Linked DNA regions of Homo sapiens: all the other regions are linked to region 2. Evidence: promoter capture Hi-C in 16 types of primary human blood cells and fetal thymus (Javierre and others, 2016). All regions are on one chromosome and are shown on one strand. The core of a region is centred on a gene start or on the middle of the fragment in contact, and the rest is flanking DNA. Distances in the headings are between cores, read along the strand shown. Region 1 has its middle 13 kb from the start of PRDM8. Region 2 holds the start of PAQR3 (progestin and adipoQ receptor family member 3). Region 3 holds the start of LOC124900725 (a long non-coding RNA gene). Region 4 has its middle 6.2 kb from the start of CFAP299. Region 5 overlaps CFAP299 (cilia and flagella associated protein 299). Region 6 has its middle 26 kb from the start of PRDM8-AS1. Region 7 overlaps FGF5 (fibroblast growth factor 5).

Region 1 (2,966 bases), core at 287-2,786, 1.3 Mb before region 2:
GAGAAGCAAATACCTTCATGTAAATTCAGACTTTTTTTTTTTTTTTTTTTTGCTGTTTATTCACACAGGTGGCAATTTTGGATACTACCTCTTTGTTGGAGGGGATAGAACTCAGGGAAATCTAAGAGAGCCTAAAGGTAAGAGACGATTGAAAATGGGAGGTTCTGAGATGGAATTTAGGGAGCAGATCGAATGTCCCTGAAAATAAGCTTCATGGCATTCACCATTTATCCACCTAGCCCTGCTAAAGCAAATAGTTAAACTAGCACTGTCTACAAAAGCATTTTAATGAAAAAGTCAATTTACTCCTTCCTGAAGGCTAACTCTTATCTTTCTAGGAAGGACCTTGCAGGAATATTTCCTTTATTTTCTTTCCTCCTCCTTCGCTTAGCCCTGACGCTGGACCTCTTAGCCTAAAGAAGAACTGAACACTATGGATACTAAAATTTTTCTAATTACATGATTTGCATCCATTTGGGGGCTGGGTGTCACTGTTTGGCTCTGTTTGTCTTTCTCAAAGACCCAGTGAAATTTTGCCAGAGTGTAAAACAGGACTTTATTCATTTGTTTGAGAGAGAAAAAAGTCATCAATTGCTTAAAAAAAAAAAAAGTTTCACACTTCACAAAAAAATAACAAAACACAGAAAAAGTGGCACAGGCAATAGTATAACACCAACACACCCACCCAGAGATGAATCCTCAGAGAAAAGTGCAATCATGGTATGCCTGTCCAGATTTTAATCCTCGAAGCAGGTGTGCACAAGAGATCTTAGTCAACGGTGGGACTGATTTATGGATTTCTACTCTGAAACCCACAGTAAGGCTCTTCTCCAAAGAAAATGCCAAAAAAAAAAAAAAAACAGTATGAGAGGAATTTGGAATTGGTGGCTGGACATTTGTGGGAAAAGAAGTAAAGGGACAAAAAGTTAGATAAATTAATCCCATGATTATTTTTCTTCCCAATTTCTCTCTTCCTTCTTTCCATCCTTCCTTCCTTTTCTTTACTCCGTCCCTCTTCTCTTCTCCTTCCTTCCTTCCTTCCTCCCTCCCTCCCTCCCTCCCTTCCTTCCTTGTTTATTTTTTACTTAAAGAATTTATTCTCTAAATAATTTGGGAAAACAAGATATTGTATGCATTCTTCAAGTCTCTATGTTTTAGCAGCATTAGAGTTCTTTATGATTTTTTAAGTCATGCATTATTTTTAAAGATCCATTTAAAAACAGGAAAAAGCTTGAGCTGGAGTGAGGGATCCGTTTTGATCTGTAGAGGGAACATTGTCTTCATTAAGCACTGAGCACAGTGTAGCTTTCTAAGTAAGGTGCAATTTGTTACATAGTAACTAGGAAAAGGGATAAGCTTCTCTCCTGCATTGTAACCATACTTTCTACAGCATGGCAAATTATATCTAGAACTCCTCTTATAGCCTTTTCCATCCTTAGCATTAGGCTGACTTACAATTTTTAAGCACTAGGAACACGCTGTATTTATAATTTAAGATTATTACAGCTAAGCCAACTAAAATATATATATATAGTTATATACACATAACTGTGTATATATATATATATATATATATAGTTTTATGTGGGGTGCATGTGTGTGTGGAGTGTGTGTGTGTGTGTGTGTGTGTGTATATATATATATCATGAATGAACCTATAGGCTTACATGATATTATGTATCAAACATTTTTTCAGTGACTCTCCTGTAAGCTTGAGGCACAGAGTAAAATCCTGAGTAATTACATAAACAACCACAAAATCAAACCAGCGATTACTCCCACCTCTGGTTAAAAATGAGAAAAGATCATTAAAGTAAGTCAAGGTCACAAAAGATTTCTTATAGAGGTATGAGAGCATTTTGACTACCTGAGAAAGATAAGTTGAGGCTAAAAGCATATCTCTTTTACCAACATGGGAGTCAATCATATTCAATAGTACAAAAAGCTGCTACATGTAGAATTATATTTGCTTTTCAAGACACCGCTATGTGATAAGCCCACAGGTGGTATTATTCACATGTTCAAGTAAAGGAAACTAAGATAAATAAATGGAAAGGCCACAAAATTTGGAACCGGTTTCCTGACATAAGAGTCACTATTTTTTCATTACATTATCACATTCTCATCTTTCTGTTTCAGAGTGACAACCGTACTAACTACACAATGCTGAAACATGATGGAGTGGGATTCTCAGTAGCCCTTGGGTAGGCTGTGAGAATTAAAGCAAGTAAACACATGAAAAGCACTTAGAATAACGCCTGCCAGTTATGTGCCTGTGTGTGGATTAAAATGTTTATGTATGTCTGTATATATAAATATGTGTATCAGTTTGTAATATATACTTACATATTTGAACACATATGCACATGCCTGCACATATGCATAGATTTATATTCTAATGCTCACACACAACTTGAAAAGAGATAAGCAAATAATAATGAGCATAACCAGGTTAGCTATTCAAACAGAACACCTGTACCAGACCTCTAATCCTAAAGATTAAAATAAAAGAATTAAATTTTTTTCAGTTTCTTTATTCACTAGGCCTGGAGAATACAGGTTTCTAAAACGTTCTAAGTTCCATATCTAAAGTGGGAAAAGCAGAGGTTGCCTTAGGAATATGATTCATGAAGCAGAGGCAAAGAGCTCCGCAGCTGCTGCCCAGCCAGTTTACAAAGCTAGAAGGCAATCATTCAGGCCCACCAGCCTGAGGCATATGTTACTGCCTCAACGTTCTGGGCCTTCTGTCAAATAAAATGCATTTGGAGGAGGAAAAGGGAGTGAGAAGGCCCACCTTCTCACCCCAATCCCAGTTTAGCTCTTGGGCAGGCTAAATTTTCTACACCCCTTTGAGGTCATATTTCACCTTCAGGAAAAAAATGAAATTTCCAAGCTGGGAGAAACTGTTCAGGAGGCAGCTGGGGGTGTGTGTGTGTGTGTGTGTGTGTTGCGGGGGACAGTGTATG
Region 2 (3,256 bases), core at 482-2,981:
GGGTGCCTGTAGTCCCAGCTACTCGGGAGGATGAGGCAGGAGAATTGCTTGTACCCGGGAGGTGGAGATTGCGTGACCCGAGATTGTGCCACTGCACTCCAGCCTGGGCTTCAGAGTGAGACTCTGTCTTCCCCCAACAACAACAACAACAAAAAATCTAGTAAGGTTACTTTCTGACTGTCCCTGCCTTTCCGTGGTCACAAAGGAGTTCTGACTTACCTCACCTGAAACTAGGTCATAAAACCCTCATTCTAGAGAGTTCCTGCCCCATACTCTGAGGCCAAGAATTTGAATGAACTGGCCTTGCTAGCTAGGATCCCCCCTCAGTTTATTATCATTAGATGATGCCCCCTTTCAATCATGTTTCTCCACAACTATCCACTCCTTTCATCAGACTTAGCATAAAAAGCCCATTTTTTCCTGGGTCTTTGTGTCTTCATTTCTGAAGACTCCTCTGTCACATAAAACTGTGTTAAATGAATTTATTATCCCTTTTCTTGTTAATTTTTATTATTTATTTTTTGAGACAAAGTCTCGCTTTGTCACCCAGACTGGAGTGCAGTGGCACAAACATGGCTCACTGCAGCCTCGACCTCCCAGGCTCAAGCAACCCTCTCACTTCAGCCCAGAATAGTTTGGGACTACAGGCGCCCATCACCACACCCGACTAATTTTTGTTTTTTGTTTGTTTGGTTGGTTTTTTTTGTAGCGACAGCGTCTCACTATGTTACCCAGGCTGGTCTCCAACTCCTGGGCATAAGCAATCCGCCTGCCTCGGCCTTCCAAAATGTTGGGATTACAGGCATGAGCCACCTGCGCCTGGCTTCTCTTAATTTTTTTCATAGGAATGTCAGCTGTGAACCTTGTGATAAGTGAGGACAAGATATTTTTCTTGCCCTTACAATGCCAAACAATGGACTAAGCGTTCTATTATACACATACGGTACTCAAACTGATGTTTTGCCCTGTTGCCATTATAAGTAAACACTTGCATTACAGTAAATAGCCAGAAACAAAGCTGCAACACTTCCTGTAAACGCTACTATAGCCGCACTCCACAGGATTTTTTAATATGTTCTATATTATTCAGTTAAGTAGATATTCTCATTTCCATTGTGATTTCTTCATCAGCCCTTGAAATATTTGGTGTATTGCTCCTATTCCAGACGTGGAGACTTTTAGTTTTCTTGTTACTCTAGTTTAATTCTACTGTGATCAGAGAACATAACGCTGAAAGGGGTCGGAGTTTTGAATGCACGGGGGCTTTCCTTTATGGCTCAGGATGTGCTCGATGCTGGTGTATGTTCCACGTGCATCAGGTTTCCTCTCTTTCCAATTATCGTGCTAAGAGCTGACTTCAGCTTAGAAATCCTCAAAGTCCCTTCTGACACTAAGTGTGTGTAATTCCAAGCATAAACTAAACGGTAATTACCTCGAACTTTTCTTCCTGTTAACTCTTTTCCTCTTGATTTTTCAAAATGCAGCAACTATTACTTCTAATAAAAAAACAGAAAAAGAAAAAAAATCCACTTGTATTCGCCTGTAGCTCTGTGCTTTCGGCTCTTCTCATATGCAAACGAAGACCCCAGGCGCCGCCAAAACACAGCGTGAGAGACGCCCGGGAGCCCGGGCCGCCGCCAGCGCACGCTCGAGCACACCCGGGCGCGCCCCAGCACCCTGCCCCTCCCAGCTAGGGCTGAGGGGCGGGGCCGCCGCGGCGCGCTGACGTCAGAGGAGGCTGCGACGCTGCCGGGTCCGCCGCGGCGCTGGCGGCAGTGGCCGGTGTGAGCGCAGAGCCGGGCCCTGGGCAGCAGCGGCAGCGCGGTAGGACCTCGCGCAGCGTCCGCGGGCTCCGGGGCGGGGGCGCCAGCGGCGAAGCCCCCTCCCCGGGGAGGCGGGACCTGGGGGAGCTCCCGAGCCGGGGAGCGGCGGCGGCCGGGAACGATGCATCAGAAGCTGCTGAAGAGCGCGCATTACATCGAGCTGGGCAGCTACCAGTACTGGCCGGTCCTGGTGCCCCGTGGCATCCGCCTGTACACCTACGAGCAGATCCCCGGGTCCCTCAAGGACAACCCGTACATCACCGACGGCTACCGGGCCTACCTGCCGTCCAGGCTGTGTATCAAAAGGTACGGTCTGGCTGCCTCCGCCTGGAGTGCCCCCTTCTCTCACCTACACCCTTTTTGTCTGGTCCCCCTTCTGCTTTCCCCGCCTTTCTGCTTGCCCATCATTTCCTCGCCGCCCCATCCTTTTCATCCCTTTTTGCCGCCTCTCCTCCCCCGTTATCTCCCCTTACCTGGCCGGGGTACTTGGTCCACGGAATAATCATGATAGTAACAGTGATCATAATTACAGCTCTCCTATGACGCTTTGCTCTTTACAAAGGGCTTTTACATCCTTTATTCGGTTTGTTCGGCTCATTGAGATATATATTGAAATGGGGCTGAGCCATATTTGCCCGGTGTATACCTTTCTTTTTAGAGCAACACTGTGGGAATTCAGTAGCTTTGGGCCAGATAAGTGCCTGTATAATAGGAAACAAGTTAACATATACACCCGAGATTTATTCATTTGGCAAATACTTATGGAGCCCATGCAGAAAAAAAAGCAAACATGGCCCTTGTTTTCATGAAGCTACTAAGGTGTAGCCTGGGTAACAGACATTAAATAGATAATTACACAATTACATAATAACCATTGTGGAAAAAATGCTGTGTAGGAAAAGTACTGTGGTAAAGAGAGCTCATAACGGGCACCCAGTCTCCACTAGAGCACCACAGAAGCATCTCTAAGAAAGAAATTTCTTTATCATTTTAAACCTTTAAAACCACAGTCCCTTGAAAATCCGTGTTTTAAAAAAACAAAACTGAAAAATAACTATTCTAGTTCTTGGAGTAACTGTCCAAACTTACTACCTGTACTAAAATACAGGACCTCTGCTTCAGGAGAATTAAGATACAGGTGTTGGTTAGCTCCAGGTCGCTGTAGTGGCAAACCCTAGTGCCAGAATGTGGGCTGTTGAATTGCTCAAGCGGCAACCACATGTCTGATTCTTGATTTTTCCAGCATTGTCTTTTCCTGCCCTTCTTTCCTTTTGTCCTGCCATGAAAGTGTTTCTGTGACTCATGGTCACAAGGTGACATCACTGCCCATCCCTACTTGGCTTGAATGGATGGCCCTTAGGATTCACAACTTGAAGCGTAATTACCGTTTTCCTCCCCAGTGCCTCCTGTGCATGAGTAAATTACACAGCTGA
Region 3 (3,081 bases), core at 162-2,661, 1.3 Mb before region 2:
TCTCACTGCATAGGCAAGCCAAGTATTGGCCTGATTCTTTGATTTCAAGAACCTTTGAAGTAGGGTCAAGTTCATGAGCATGCTGTCTGTGCAGTGTCACGGGTCCTAGGCTCAGAAAGACCTCATGTTAGGTTTAAAGCTCTTCCATTGCCGTCTTGAAATTTTAAATAAATTTATTTATAACTTATGTTTTGGAAATGAAATCTAATGGTACAATGGAGCCGAGGAGTGTGCACAGGAGATATCTCAATATGAGTATCCACCACTATTCCTTGCTGCCACATTTATATATAGCATTTGTGATGCCCCATGAGCACAGAATTCCAGTGGACTCACAATGCGTAGTAAGTAGTTCAGTGAGAAAGGTAGTATGAGGTCAGTTTGTTAAATCTAAGATTGACTAACGGTAGGGTGGGGATGTAGGGGGGACTTGCTGAGGTCCCTGGGATGCCACCCTTTCAGTTTCAACTAGAACTTGTTTGGAATGCAGAAAGAAGGCAATGGTGTTGGGCTGCTTTTTTCGTATTAGCCAACCAGTTATGTTGAAAATAAGATCAGAAGAAAAGGGAAAGATAGGACAGGCCCCAATTCCTTTTGCTTTCCTTCCTTACTTATCAGTAAGCCAAAAGTAGAATGTATTGGTAGAATGTGTATCCTTCAAGAAAGGAAAGAAAAAACATGTTAGCTTTGTGCAGATTTCTACTGTTCTGGTAACAACAGAATACATACAAAATACAAAATAGAATTGTATAATTTTGGTGATTCTGCATACAGGTTAAATGCTCTTATATTTACATCTAAAACTGGCATTGCACAATATGAAGATATGCTGTAAAATTTCTAATGATCTTAAATTTAAAAAATTTTCTACTTAGAACAAAATTAAATGCTAATGAAAAACAGTATAAGTTGAAAGAGAAGCAGAAATAGAAGAAAAACCCTTATATTTGGATATCTTTAATGGTACTTTTTTCCTTTTTTTTTTTTTGAAAAGGAGATCTCACACTTTTATTTTGCACTGGGCCCTGAAAATTACGTAGCCAGAGCAGTCTGAGGAGTCTGCACCATTTCTCAGCTGTAACCCGAAATACCCTTTCACTTACAGGGACCTCAAATTCTGTTAAGAAAACACAAAGCTTATCATTCAACAATTACCAAGAAGCTCAAAATGCTAAAAGAGATGTAATACAAATAGCAGTGGACTTAATATTTAAAAGAGTGATTAAGTTCTAGCACTGTCACCATGTGTATTTGGGAAAGTTATTTACATTTCCTAGCCCTTCACTGCCTCCACTGTAAAATGGGCTAAATTATCTACCTGTAAGTCCCCTGCAAGCTCAATGGAATCTGAAACTAAATCTGTATTAAGCACATAAAAATGGCTAGATTTTAGAACTCTTTACAGATTTTGAGATTATTAGAGAAAAAGACTCTTGATATCTGAAAGGGAAAAGAATTGGGGCTGGAGGAGATGAATTGTTTCACTTTTTCACAGGACCAGTTCTACAATTAAAATCCTCAAGTAAAAGTTTAAGGAAGAAGTAAATGGAGGATAGAAAGCACTACTGTGTATTAAACACCTGCTGAGTACTGGACACTGTTCATGTTATTCTTCTAATTTCTCACAACCAGCTCATAAAGTATACGTAATAATTGTCATTTTGAGAACAAGAAAAATGAAGCTTACGGATTAAATAAATTTCCTGAAGTCACATTGTTAGTAAAGTGGCAGGATTTTGAATCTCAGTTCAGGTTCCAGCAAAGATTATATTCTTTCCACTACAATAGAGAAAAAAATGTTTTTTAGAGAGACTGAATGAAAATATAGAAATAAAAAGTTCAAAAGTTAAGTGCACAAGTAACATGGAGAAGGAAACTCATATGCTCATTCTGTTTTAGCTTTCTTAGGTGATAAATTAGGAGTCACAAAACTACAGGATATTAACCGCATTATTGATGATATAATTATATAATTTTAAATGTTTTGAATAACAATTGAAATGAAAATATATAAAAATCAAAGTCAAAAGAAAATGTAAAACTTGTATATACTTTTTGGTATTTTACGATACTCATTTTGAGTGCATATTCATGTTACCTCAGAAATGTTTTAAAACTTAGGGTTAATTAGAATAATAGCTATAGTCATTTTGATTTCATTGAATGATATTAAAACAGCCTGATCGTGTTGTTACTTTTTTTAAAATTGAAGTAACTATCTCATCCTGCAATGTTTTCATTTATATTTCTAAAATCTGTTCTTTGTAAACCAGCCCAAACCAATTATGTTAATTTCCTAAGAACACTGGTCAATTGGGTTTCCCTCTAGCCTTTCAATCCTATAATCAATGCAAAATATAACTGGAAAAGTTAAAACATCTATAATTTTTAAAAACATCGATAATTTCTTCATTTATGGTCCAGTGGGAAAATAAGGCAGAGGGAACTGCTTGCCTAAATTCTCAAACGGAGTCAGGAACAAACTTCTAAGTCTGGTGCTTCTTGTGTTACACTGATAATTATTTCTGCTTGCTCATTCACTTCCCAGCTATATATCCTGTGACCCAATCCTGTCTGGTTGACATTCAGAATATTCAGGTGAGCCAAATTAGCCATGATCGAGTGATGTCGCACATACTTATCCTTTGACTTATCCATTCCTTGTGTCCTCAGCAACACAGCTGTGAACACTGGCAACACAATAGTTATTTATGGCTAAGTTACGCAGTCTTAGTTTGCTGCTATAATACTTCATGAAAATTAACTTTTTTAGAACTTTGAAATAAAAAAATATTTTAGGCTTCCTTATTTGTAATATACAGCAATGTTACTTAACCAAACTAACTCACTGTGTTGTTCTGAGGTTTGAAGGAGATAATACGTGAGGAAGGCATTTGTAAACTCTAAAAGAAGCATTTTAACATAAAGCAATGTCATGGAAAGCCAACAAAATTACACAGCTTACAGCTATATTTAAAATTATAAGCTTTCTAGAAACTATAGTTTATGTATTTCATTGGTTTACAGGGATGAGTGAAAATTGATATTTTCTGACAGTTTGAAGAAAAATAAGCTTAGATA
Region 4 (3,287 bases), core at 365-2,864, 1.4 Mb before region 2:
TTTGCTGCTGGGTCTCAAACATGCTGTTCCCTCTGCCTAGGACATTCTTTCACAGTACACACTTTTTCCATTTACCTATTAGCTCCCTATTATAGATCTCGGTATAGAGATCAAGATATAGTAGTCTCCTGTGTTCCCAGAGCACTTTCTAATGCACTTATCATTTGTTGCAATATCTTGATTATTATAAAGTATTTGACAAATGTCTATACTGCTTATTAGAATCTATGAACATAAAGGCAAAGACTATGTCAACCCTCTTCACCACTATATCCTCAGCATCTAACGTAGTACCTGGAACATAATGATCCCTCAAAAGTATTTGCTGAATAAAATGCTTTTTCTATATATTTCAGTGATTCATTTTGGAAACAAGGTGAAAGGCATTACAATCCGTATGAGGACTATCAAGAAAAACAACCTAAATTTTAGCACCTACATTTTAGAAAGGCACTTAGCAATACCAATGTAATAACAGCACAAGTCAGAATTCTTTTTGATAAAGAGATATTTTGAAGCACTATGCAAATTCAGATGAGTGAAAAATTACTTCCAACTGGAAGTTGTCATGAAAATGTGATGACATGGCCTTTGTGCTGAATATGAAGTACTGAGATGGGGAGCTGGGACTCTGAATAAATGTCCATGTGACTGAGTCTCATGTGCTAAAGTTTCAAGGTGAGAAAACGAGAGGTATGTTCAGGGAAGGGTGATAAGAGAAATTTATTTAAAGTGCAGGACATATGCAAGAGGGCAGAAAAATGGAAGGGCAAGTTAAAAGTAGACCACGCTGTGGTCTGTCTATTTAAGAAGCTTTAATCATACTCTCCAAGCAAAAGAAAGCCAAAAGAAGTGTTTGCAAAGACGTGATCATCAGAACTATAGTTTTAAAGATTATTCTGACAGCAGTAAATGACTGGAGGGGAGGTAGGAAGACATCTTAGGTCAGGAGACAGAAGAAAAGGGGAGGTTGAAATTAGGAGTAGCTGCAGGGGAGATGTACTTAAGAAAGCTTTGGGGAAAGAATTTTATAGCCAGAGACTGATTTCAAGTTTATTGCACACTTTTTACCCTGAAGCAAAAGTCAGAAGATTTTCATTTTAGATCAAACTTTTACCTGCTCAAAATAAGAAATACAATGGCATGGTTGGTTTTTAATGAAACCTTCCTGGTACATAATAAACTCAAATAATGAGGCACTGACTTGAGGGTAAAAAAGAAATTCAGATAAAACCTTAGAAGAAAATAAAAGGAGACATCGTTAAAACCCCAGAGATGAGGTGGAAATAGGCTGCCTCTCTGAGAAATATATTTAGCTCTTCTAAATTACATGATAATCTCTATAGAATTCCTAAGAGCTTGATCTATTTTAAACTAACATCTTCTTTCTAGCTTCTGAGTACAATATCAAAGCTCGTCAGGTACTCAAGATTTCTGCAGCCATGGTAATAATACAACTCCAGTCACAACTAAGCAGATATAGAAAGGGAAAAAAAATCACTAGACTTTCTAAGAGAAGCATTAAAGGAAGTGGTGCCAATTCCATTAAGAGCTAATTCAACTCATGCTCAGCTCTACTTCTCTAGGATATCAAATATTCTTTGGCTACAGATTCATTAATCACAATAAAAATGTTTTGATCCATCTTTCCTACTCAATCTCACTTATTGAAACAAAAGTAAAACTTATTTACCTCAGTAATCAGTAATGTAAATTACCTCAGTAAGGTAAAGTCACCAAAGAGTCAGGAACTGTGCTAGGCTTTGAGAGTGCAACCAAAAAATAACACCTGATTCTTTAAATCTTCAAGGATATTATCATTTAGGGAAGACAGAAGGAGGACCTGAACTGGTAGTTGGCTGAATGAAGGAAAGGAAGAAGATGAACTAAGTAAATTGGAGATATAAATGTGTAAATAAGTGAGAAAAATAAAAATTTACAGGAGCAATGATAACATATATATATATATATATATATGTATACAGTGTACTGCTGGGGTATCCAATCTTTTGGCTTCCCTGGGCCACATTGGAAGAAGAATTATCTTGGGCCACACATAAAATACACTAACACTAACAATGGCTGATGAGCTAAAGAAAAATCGCAAAAAAAGAAATCTTATATTGTTTTAAGAAAGCCTATGAATGTATATTGGACTGCATTTAAAGCCGTCCTGGGCTGCACATGGCACACGGGCTGCGGGTTTGACAAGCTTGGTGTACAGAGTGGAAAATATATGAGAAAAAAGTTGATTCTATACCATAGAATGCAAGAATGATGTGTTTTAAGAAATCAATAGGAAATAATTTTTTATTCTGGAAAACAATGAGTTAGGACTGGATGGGCTCTGAGGGCACATCTAGCTTCAAAATTCTGTGATAATATTCTAACTTAAACTTTCAATAACTGTTCAGATTTAGCCTACAGGAAATCACTCAGAAGAGAGGAAAACAGTGGAATTTTGTCATATCGTGCAGTTTTCTGGAACAAAGCACAGGATTTTACTAAACTAATTCATGACCACGAGTCTCAACATACTTGGCAATACCAACATACTGTCTTAGTGGTTTGTTTTCTTTTTTTTAAGTCTATTTTACACCTTTTTTCCTATTCAAAATTGTCATCTTCCTTCTCTCTTACTCCTCATTCCCTTCAGCATCACTCCACCCCCACCCCTACCTACCCACACAATACAACCCTATCTACACTTGTTCTTAGGTATTAATCTTGTCCTTTGTTATGATGAATATAATATTCCTATCATATGCAACCTATGTCCTCCAATTCTCTGGATATCATCCTCTCTCACCTTCTCAAGGATTTCATCCTGCTGTTAGTCACATTCTCCCTAGCTTTGTCCATTTCTCCCACTCTGGGTCACCCCAACGGCATACAAGCACATTCTAGAATCTCATGTCTTTAAAACAAGTGAGCTCCTTTGACCCCATGTTTTGTTTCAATTATTGTCATTTTTACTTTCACCTTATTAAAAAAACTTATTGAAAGAGTAATCTATATTTATCATCACCCCTTCCTCATTTCCCTGTTCTCTTCTAAGCTTTCTCCAACCAAAATTTTCGGCCACCACTTGACTAAGATTGTTTTTTTTCTAGGTCGCCAATTACTTTCTTGTTTTCAAATCATAGGGATGTGGCTCTACTTGTAATGTACTTGACCTTTCAGTGGCATGAAGCACAGCTTGCTGGTCATTCATAAAATACCTTCTTCTCTTAGCTTCCATAATACCACACTCATACTGCACTCATACTACCTGTTCTTATTAGTGT
Region 5 (3,299 bases), core at 703-3,202, 1.4 Mb before region 2:
CCTTCTGTCTACTTGCTTGGACTCAATTTGTATTGTTTTAAAGCTTCTTAAGGTAGAAGCTACTATCATTAATTTCTAGACCTTTCTCCTTTCCCCATATAAACTTTTAAAACTGTGAAGTTCCCTCTATAGATTCCTTTATGTATATCCAATAAACATTTATATATTTTGTTTTCTTTTTTACTCAAATCAAATTTTTTTCTAATTTTTCTTTTAATTTCTTTTTTGACATTGCGTTATTTAGAACTATGTTGTTTATTATCCAAATATTTTGGAATTTGAGGGGTATATTCCTATAGTTGATTTCTAGTTTTAATTGTTATGATCACAGAATATACTTTTGTATGATTTCAGTATTTTAAATGTATTGAGACTTGTTTTATGACCCTGCATATGGTCCTTCTTCATAAATGTCCCATGTGCATTTGAAAAGAATAGGTATTCTATTATTGTGTGAACTGCTCTTTTATTTATTTATTTTTTTGAGACAGAGTCTCACTCTGTCGCCCAAGCTGGAGTGCACTGGCACAATCTTGGCTCACTGCAACCTCCGCCTCTTGGGTTCAAGGGATTCTCCTGCCTCAGTCTCCCAAGTAGCTGGGATTACAGGTGTGCACCACTGTCCCCGCATAATTTCTGTATTTTAGTAGAGACGGGGTTTCACCATGTGGGCCAGGCTGGTCTCGAACTCCTGATATCAAGTAATTCACCCACATCAGCCTCCCAAAGTGCTGGGATTACAGGTGTGAGTCACTGCACCTGGCCTTTGACTGCTCTTTAAATCTTTTACATACTTACATTTATTCTAACTTCTGGTTCTATCAATTACTGAAAACAGAATGTTTATGTCTCTAGAAACAATTGTGAATTTGTCTACTCTTTCAATTCTTATCAATTTTGCATAACGCATTTTGAGGATCTGGCATGAGGCATGTAAGCTAATGTATTGATTGACTCATTTATCTATATTAAAAAGTCCTTCTTTTTCCCTGAAATACTTCTAGTTCTGAGGTCTACTTTGCCTGATATTAATATAGACATTATAAATCTCCTTTTCTTTATGCTTGTATAATACATATTTCCCATCCTTTTAATCTATTTAAAATTATCTATTAATGTTAATATAAAATTAACATTATATTAACATTATTTATAAATCATAATTATTAATAAATCATTAATTATAAAACAATTTAATGTATTAACATTAATAGATTGTTAATTTAATGTTATTAATATATTACTATAACTATAACATTAATATTAATCTTAATGTTTTATTATTAATCTGTTAATGTTAATACATTTACATTAAATTGTTGTATTTATATTTAAGGTGGGACAGCATATATGGCTCTTGAACTTTTATCTATTCTGACCATCTCTGCTTTTAAATTGAAATGTTTAGATCATTTACATTTAATGTAATTTTCAGTATGGTTGGGTTTTAATATACTACCTTGTTATTTCTTTCTTATTAGTCCCATTTGCTTTGATATTTGATTATTTTTGCTTTCTATTTTTTGTTTCTTATTTCCATTTTATCTCCACTATTACATTTTTAGTTATATGTCTACTTTATTTTTCAGCAGGTACTCTGTGATTTACAAGAATTATTAGCTTATTACATTCTACTTTCAAATAATATTACACCATCTCAAGTATAAGAACCCATTGCAACATTATCCTCTGCTATCTTTTGTGCTATTGTTGTTTCATACTGTATTTCTGTGCATGTTATAAACCACAAAATGCAATGTCATTATTTTTCTTTAAATAATCAATAATCTTTAAATATAAAACTGAGAAAAAATTTGTATTCACATATTTAGCATTTCTGGTGCTTTTCATTCATTTTCATTTTGATCCAAGTTTCCTGCTTATATATAATTTTCCTTCAACCTGAAGAACTTCATTAAACATTTCTAGTAATATATATCTGCTAACAACAAATTATCCTGGCTGGAAAATAAATTATCTCACCTTACTCTTTTCTTCTGATACAGTGTTCTAGGTTGACTTTTTTCAAATCTTTCAGCACTTTAAAGATGCCGTTCATTTTTCTATGGCTTGCATTGTTTCTTTTTTTTTATTTACTTATTTTTTACTTTAAGTTCTGGGATACATGTGCAGAAAGTGCAGCTTTGTTACATAGGTATACATGTGCCATGGTGGTTTGCTGCACCTATCAATCCATCATCTAGGTTTTCAGCCCCGCAAGCATTAGCCATTTGTCCTAATGCTCTCCCTCCCCTTTCCCTCCACCCCCAACAGGCCCGGGTGTGTAATATTCCCCTCTGTGTGTCCGTGCGTTCTCATTGTTCAGCTCCCACTTATTAGTGAGAACATGTGGTGTTTGGTTTTCTGTTCCTGTGTTAGTTTGCCGAGGATGACAGCTTCCAGCTTCATCCATGTCCCTGCAAAGGACATGAACTCATTGTTTTGTATGGCTGCATAGTATTCCATGGTGTATATGTGCTACGTTTTCTTTATCCAGTATATCATTGGTGGCATTTGGGTTTGTTCCAAGTCTTTGCTATTGTAAATAGTACTGCAATAAACATATATGTGCATGTGTCTTTATAGTAGAATGATTTATAATCCTTTGGGTATATACCCAGTAATGGGATTGCTGGGTAATATTCAGTCATTCCTGTTTTTGGTTTACTTTATAATGTGTTCTTTTACTTTTGTTTTTAAGATTTTCTCTTTATCACTAGTTTTCAGTGATTTTATTAAAACATTCCTTCGTGTAGTTTTCTTTGCATTTATTCTGCTTGGAATTCATTGAACTTCTTGGCTCTGTGGGTTTGTACTTTTCATAAAATTTGGAAAATGTTTAGCTATTACCGTTTAAAATATATTTTATTCCTTCCTTCCCTTTGTTCATTTTGGACTCCATTTAAATGTATGTTAGACTGTTTGACATTGCCCCACAGGTTACTGAGGCTGTGTTCATTTTTGTTTATGTCTTTTGTTATTATCTTATTCATTGCTGGTGAACAGAGTTGTTTTCACTCAATTTTCAACTTCCTTTCTAAACTCACTTATTTGTTAAAATAGGATTTCAGCATTTTTTCTTGTATGTTCATTGTAGATAATCATATTGCCTATATGTAATTATATTCTGACTCTTTTCAAATATTTATGACACTTTCCTTAAATTGCAGCACTGCACTGCTAGACTGCCAATAAAACATTACTAGTAGTAGCAACCATTTTTATCATGTTTCTAATTCTAATGCTAACCATTCAAGTGTTTAAACACTGAGTATGACGTTTCCTATAAGTGTTTGAAA
Region 6 (3,219 bases), core at 395-2,894, 1.2 Mb before region 2:
ACTAACCCACAGACAAAAAAATGGAAGAGGACAGTGGTGGAGAAGCATGCTCTCTTTCCTGAAGCCTTAGATTAAAATTATACTCAAGGCCGGTTGTCATGGCTCATGCCTGCAATCTCAGTGCTTTAGGAGACTGAGCTGGGAGGATAACTTGCGACCAAGAGCTCAGGATCAGGTTGGGCAACATAGCAATATTCTGTCTCTGCAATAAATAAATAAATCAAATTATCTGATTGTGGTGGCACGTTCCTGTAGTCCCAGCTACTGAGGAAGCTGAGGTGGGAGAATTGCATGAGCCTGGGAGTTCAAGGCCACAGTAAGTTAAAATTGTGCCACTGCAATCCAGCCTGAGCAACAAAGGAAGACTTTAACTCTAAAAAAAAATTATAGCCAATATCAGAGTCTTGAATATTCACTGTAAACATCAGCACAAACAAAAGCCCGATTTCTAAATCTCATAGAAACTAAGAGTTTGAAAACTTGAGAGGACTGATATAAAGTTGGAAGTCAGTGTTTCAAAGGAGAGAGACAGAGTTAGCTATAGGAAAACAGAAAATTAGGAGTGGAAAGCAAAGAAGAGTCTTGTAAGTAACATATATAGCTGAACAATAAATACAAGTGAAATAGATTGACTTCTAGAATGGCAGTGTGGGAAACTCTGCTGAGCCACTCCTCAGTGAAACTGGTGAAAATTGTGTGTAAAGAAACAACCACTTAAATTCTCTGGAAATGGTCCTAAGGGCAAATGGTAAATAAAGAAATACCTATTAGAGGAAATTATGAATATCTGTCAAGAGAGGTGAGTCTGTGACATTTGAACTGAAACTACTACTTTCCTTGCCCCTCCCAGCTCAGTGAGGCAGAGACTCTACTCCAGACGCTGCAGCCAAGAATATGACTCTTTATATTCCTTAGGTGTCAGCTGCAGGGCTTTCATTGCAATAGGACATAACTTGAGCTTTTTTGGTCCTGCCCGTAGCTGTCTGTTGCTAAGGCTAAGTCTTAGGTGAATACAACTGGGAGGAGGAAGCTTCCTTCTCCCACCCAACACTTTCTTGTAAAAAGGAAGTTCTACCTTGGGTGTGGTGCATTGAGAATGAAACTACCTTTGCAAAAATTATGACAGTGAGAGAAATGTAACCTAGCTGACACTGCCATACTTCTAACTTAACAAGCTAACTGTGTTTGCTCATTCCTGGGTGTAGGCGAAGCTAATTGTGGAAGGAATTTAGCTTATAGTTTAACTTTAAATAAAGGATAATAGTCTCCCCCAAAAACTGACCCCCTCTGGGGACTGAAACCACCTTTGTAGGACTAATGAAAGGCCAAAAGCTTAGGATTATGAGTGGGGAATGAATTCTGGTAAGATGTAGATGTAGTTAAATGATAACCAGCCACAGTTCCGAAGATGACAAGATTTGTAAGTTCTTTAATTGCTCTTATAGATACCAACGGTATTGTCAAAACCCAATATTGGTCTTTGAGGTATTTTTCAGACTTTTGCACTTTGGCTGACCAGTTGATGCCACCTGGATCTGTGACTCATACCAGGGAACTGACTTAACCAATCCTGTGACCCCCTACCCTGAAACTGACTCAGCACATGAAGAACATTTTGGATACACCTATGATTTCATCCTGAACCAATCAGCAGGACCTAGTCCCTAACCCCCTGCCTGCCAAATTATCCTTAGCCTCCGAGCTTTCAATACTTAAACTCTTTCTTTGCTGCAGTATCTGCTATTTTCAGGGAATTGGCTTTTCTGGGCAGTGGGTAAGATGAACCAATTGGGCTGTTAACAGGAATACTGGAGCCTTGGGAGCCTTTTCCTTGGCCTTTGAAGTAAAGTTTCCACACCATGAGTGGCAAGCTGAAAGACCTGCAAACTCCTCTCTCACCCCATCCACCAAGCATTCAGCAATTAGAGCCAGGGTATTACTCAGAGAGAAGCTTGTCATTGTTTCCACCCCCAACTCCGTGCTCTAGCTCAGAAATTTTGCCTAGGGAGAGAATCAGGCCATAAAGCATGCAACTCTTTATCTCTTCCCAAGGGATCTTACTTTATTCCAAACAAAGTGTAGATAATTTTAAACTTAAGGGCACTCTCAAGAACAGTAGAAGTTGTGGTGAAAAGCAATTGAGAGGAAATTTTGGGACCAAATGAAGATATAGCCTAGACTGTAGGCCAGCTAGTTTGTAAGAGAGAACTGGGAAATAAGATAGCTGACAGGAGCTCTCTTGGAGTTAATACAAATAGCAAACACTGATCTCAGAAACTTTCCCATATAAAGTGTCACAATATTATTAGATTTATTTGTATATCTTTTTTTTTTTTTTTTTTTTGAGACAGAGTCTCACTGTGTCTCCCAGGCTGGAGTGCAATGGCACAATCTCAGCTCACTGCAACCTCTGCCTCATGGGTTCAAGCGATTCTCCTGCCTCAGCCTCCTGAGTAGCTGGGATTACAGGCACCTGCCACCATGCCCAGCTAATTTTTGTATTTTTAGTAGAGACGGGGTTTCACCGTGTTGGCCAGGCTCGTCCCAAACTCCTGACCTCAGATGATCCTCCCGCCTTGGCCTCCCAAAGTGCTGGGATTACAGGCATGAGCCACCATGCCCGGCCAATTGGATTTATTTGTAAAGAAAAAATTATGTTCCAGGGCACTGTTGGAAACAATTAAGCAATAGGCCAGAAATTAGTAGAGTTTAACAGCTAGGTGTAATCAGCGAAAGGGTGGGAGAGAATCTTACCAGTACCACTACTATCCCAGGATAATTGTTAGATATACCCAGAACTGTGCCTCACTGATCAGAGAGCATCAGAGGCTTACCATGATGTGTATGTTGAAAAGTGAGGGAATGGAAGCCAGGGAATAGACTTCAACTAAAATAACTCAGCACTCACTAAACAAATAAACAAGAAAATAATAATCGCAATCCTAGAGGGGGGCGGGGTACCAGTTTCCAGAGTTACTAAGATATATTATCTAAAATGTCCAGTTTCTAACAACAAATTATGAGCATGCAAAAGAATGGAAAAGTATAAATTGTATACTGGATGAAATACATGCAACAGAAACTTCTTATCAGGGTAAATTAAACAATTAAATCAAAAAGCAGAGATTATCAGACTTGATTTAAAAACATGCTTTAACTATATGTTGTCTTCAGGATAAACTTTATATTCAAAGACATAAATAGATTGAAAATAAAAGG
Region 7 (3,125 bases), core at 20-2,519, 1.3 Mb before region 2:
AACTATACACATTTTTCCTTTTTCTCTCTTTTGTTAATGAATAAAATATAGAAAAGCACAGATATTCCATGTATTCAGAAGCTTTCAACAACGCATCTGAAAATCCCCAGACAAAAATATTTTAAAACTGAAGTTTCTCTACTTGCATCCACAAAGTAACAGATATGCTGTGCCAAGTTATGAAATCTGAATCTTGAAATATTCAGTTTAGCAGTCTTCACTGATTAAATTAGCAACAGAAATTTTCCACTTGATTTTTCTGCATAGTAGATATAGATTCTGATTTATCTAGGCTTGGGGGACTGTCTAATGACTCCACATGACCCCAAAATTGGTAGTGAATTTAGATTTTTTTAAAAAGCAGTAACATCGACGATTCTATTAACCAAAATATGTGCTTGGAATTTTCATATTTTATGTAAACGCTTTGACAAAGCCTTAAACTTTTCTTCCCTAAACTGACAACTACTTGATTGCCTATTCTTCAATGGCCCAAGGTAAGTCAACAGAAGCACTGTATTGACATTAAACTTGAAGGCGTATAAATTAAACCAAACCATTTGTTTCCATGCAATAGTTGGGTCATCTATCTTGCCTTGTTCATATTTCTTCATTTTTCCACAGTATTTCCTCATAATAAGGATTTATATACAATGAGCTTGATTTCATTTTCTGTGTTCAAAACTTGGGATAATTATTGTGTAAGAGAAGCTAAGAGTATATTAATTGGTCCATGTAAACTAAACAAATTATGTTTGAAAGTCCATGGCCATGGTGCACTTCTCATGGTGAAACCAGAAAACATTTGCAATTTGCAAAAAAAAAAAAAAAGTTTACTGTCAAATAATAGTTTGCGAAACACATATGATTATCTGTTCTATCAGACAAATACTACAGAATATTATTAGGTTTAAAATAACTTGTTAGAATGCAGTTTCATGGCAAAGCTTTGACTTTTCTGAAGTATCAGGGTTGTAACAAAAAGAATAGGTTTTCTATCATCACTAACTCACATACAGTAGAAATAGAAGATGAGATCAAACTGAGGTATCCTCTGTGGCCCTTGATCCAGCCCTCTCAGCCTCTCTTAGGAGATTTAAACACATTTCCTCACATACTCTAAGAAAGGCCATGGCCAACACCTTAGTTTACACGAATGTCAGGAAACATCAACTACTGCCTTCAAAGAGGTAAATGACCAATTGTAATTAGCAAGTTTCTGTTTCTCTTTTACAGCTAGGTAATGGCAGAGATCCATGTTAAATTCCCAAATTACATGCAAATTCTGCATTGATCAAAGGTAGTAAAAATTTTATGAAGTAGTATTAGACACTCCAGATATCACAAAGCAGAAAATTACTATGATTTGAATATTTGCTATGCTTTCTTCTGGGGAAAAAAAAAAAAACTCTATGGAAGACAAACAACACAAAAGTAACCAAAATATCATGCTTAGTGAGATAGGTATCTTATATTGGGTACATGATTTATGGCATGAATGAAAGCAAGTCATGTGAAAGACACAGAAACTAAACTCTGAAAGGTTATTGTAAACAAGAATAAATTAGGAAAAAGTTTAAATTAAGCTTTTTGTCGGCACTGTTTTAGGAAACATCCCTGTTCTCTTGTAGATATCTTTCAACATGGATTTTAAAAGAAAATGTACATGTTACATACTGGGTAGTGGTCAATGTCTTGTTTATCTGGGTGCACTCTTTTTGATCTGCTCTTATTTTCCCCCCTTTGCTTTTCTACAACACCCCCTCTAGCAAGGCCTAAGCTGTAAAACTACCTTCGTCTCATATAGTGTCTTCGTAGAGAAGATGGTGAATATCCTGGGAATGAGCCTTGCTTTCTGAGATCTCTAGCACACCTAAACCCTCCCCAGAAGCATTCTCTGAGCTCCCTGGGCTCCAACCTGCTGCTTGCTGCCTGCTAGTTTGGGGTCCGCCCTTGAGCTCACGGAAGTTATCCTCTGTTGGTGCTCTGTCATGTACCCAGGGAGAGTGGAAACATAGCCAGGAGACAGCAGCGCGCACAGTCACCTGTCTTTCAGTGTCAGCCTGGTTGCTCCTAGATGTTCCTAACTTGCTCCATCTCAGACCAATGACTCCACGGGTCGTTACAAGAAGAACAGAAGAAAGAAAGTTTTCTTGTAAGAGAGAAGGAAAGGTTGCCGGAAGTGGGAATAAGCTGTGATGGCTGATGGAGTCAAAAGACCGTTGAGACAAAATGAGAAGGACGAATGGAAATAAATAGATGTTACTGATTATTCCTCAAATCTCAGAAAATTCCATTTCACCCCAACAGATCTTGCCCTTTATCCCCCAAATGAGCAGTTATTCGATGAGTGAAATAAACTCTAAAATATGGAAATAGATTCCTCTCGGGAGTGTGAGGGAGGCCCTGGGACTCGCTGGTGCGTGTGCGGAGGGCCCTCTCTCCAGCTGGGCGCTCCAGGCGCCCTCACCACGTGCGCCGCAGGCTGCTGAATCAGCGCGATCAGATAGACTAGACAGGCGCAGAGGGGCGGGCATAGACCTGCTTTTCTCTCAGCATGAACCATCAGGTCTTCCGCATTAGGCCCCCTTAACCCACCGGAGGAGGCTAGCCAGCCTACCGCCTTACCCACTTGCGCGCCTCCGACCCCCCTCTGGAGACTGCTGGCTGCCAAATCTTCAGACCGCCGGTGGTGTCCACGCTCCTCTGGAGCCTGTGTAAGAAGGAGCCCAATGGCCCGTGGAGTCTTTGGTCTGAGATGGAGCAAGTTAGGAACATCTAGGAGCAACCAGGCTGACACTGAAACCAGGTGACTGTGAGCGCTGCTGTCTCCTGGCTACATTTCCGGTCTCCCTGGGTACCTGACAGGCCCTGGCTGGGGCTCTGCCTGGTGGACCAACCCGCGCTGGAAGAGCGATCTGGCCCTACTGAGCAAAAGCCCCACAGAGATCTCCCCACTCCTACTCACAGCCCCAAACCGTCCCTGCCCCCAGCTGCCTAGAGGCAGTGAAGAGAAACCAGAGGAGTGGCTGCGATGGTCTGGAAACATAGATGGGGTGGAAGGGAAGAGGAGATGAGAAAGGAAAAAAGAGAGCGTGCTGAAAGAAAAAACTCAGAGGGAAAAT

What was found. Contacts are between HindIII fragments. The CHiCAGO score rates a contact against its expected background, and 5 or more counts as called.
Region 1: a contact is called between a fragment that was not itself captured here and the fragment with the promoter of PAQR3 in region 2, in 16 of 17 cell types (fetal thymus, total CD4 T cells, total CD8 T cells and 13 more). The highest score is 16.5, in fetal thymus.
Region 3: a fragment that was not itself captured here is called in contact with the fragment with the promoter of PAQR3 in region 2 in 13 of 17 cell types (M0 macrophages, M2 macrophages, total CD8 T cells and 10 more); the score reaches 9.1 in M0 macrophages.
Region 4: a fragment that was not itself captured here is called in contact with the fragment with the promoter of PAQR3 in region 2 in 2 of 17 cell types (fetal thymus and M0 macrophages); the score reaches 6.5 in fetal thymus.
Region 5: a contact is called between a fragment that was not itself captured here and the fragment with the promoter of PAQR3 in region 2, in 2 of 17 cell types (M2 macrophages and fetal thymus). The highest score is 5.6, in M2 macrophages.
Region 6: a contact is called between a fragment that was not itself captured here and the fragment with the promoter of PAQR3 in region 2, in 7 of 17 cell types (naive CD8 T cells, M2 macrophages, fetal thymus and 4 more). The highest score is 9.8, in naive CD8 T cells.
Region 7: a fragment that was not itself captured here is called in contact with the fragment with the promoter of PAQR3 in region 2 in 1 of 17 cell types (monocytes); the score reaches 6.0 in monocytes.

Annotation. Positions count from the first base shown.
Region 1 is chr4:80,208,523-80,211,488 of GRCh38, reverse strand. No RefSeq gene overlaps it. Among named protein-coding and RNA genes, the nearest start is that of PRDM8, 13 kb to the right of the region's middle. The HindIII fragment of the contact is 355 bases long and covers 1,359-1,713 here.
Region 2 is chr4:78,937,913-78,941,168 of GRCh38, reverse strand. PAQR3 (progestin and adipoQ receptor family member 3) reads left to right here and starts at 1,731. Exons shown (of 6, transcript NM_001040202.2): 1 at 1,731-2,129. The coding sequence starts at 1,945. RefSeq lists silencers at 1,552-2,041, 2,132-2,201. The HindIII fragment of the contact is 16,646 bases long and covers 1-3,256 here.
Region 3 is chr4:80,230,893-80,233,973 of GRCh38, reverse strand. LOC124900725 (a long non-coding RNA gene) reads right to left here and starts at 1,767. Exons shown (of 2, transcript XR_007058161.1): 1 at 1,688-1,767. The HindIII fragment of the contact is 546 bases long and covers 1,139-1,684 here.
Region 4 is chr4:80,327,899-80,331,185 of GRCh38, reverse strand. It overlaps a transcript of CFAP299 not described here. Among named protein-coding and RNA genes, the nearest start is that of CFAP299, 6.2 kb to the left of the region's middle. The HindIII fragment of the contact is 1,200 bases long and covers 1,015-2,214 here.
Region 5 is chr4:80,349,752-80,353,050 of GRCh38, reverse strand. All of the region lies in intron 1 of CFAP299 (cilia and flagella associated protein 299), which reads right to left. Among named protein-coding and RNA genes, the nearest start is that of CFAP299, 16 kb to the right of the region's middle. The HindIII fragment of the contact is 3,813 bases long and covers 46-3,299 here.
Region 6 is chr4:80,170,170-80,173,388 of GRCh38, reverse strand. No RefSeq gene overlaps it. Among named protein-coding and RNA genes, the nearest start is that of PRDM8-AS1, 26 kb to the left of the region's middle. The HindIII fragment of the contact is 619 bases long and covers 1,335-1,953 here.
Region 7 is chr4:80,268,072-80,271,196 of GRCh38, reverse strand. All of the region lies in intron 1 of FGF5 (fibroblast growth factor 5), which reads right to left. Among named protein-coding and RNA genes, the nearest start is that of FGF5, 3.0 kb to the right of the region's middle. RefSeq lists an enhancer at 1,994-2,564. The HindIII fragment of the contact is 639 bases long and covers 950-1,588 here.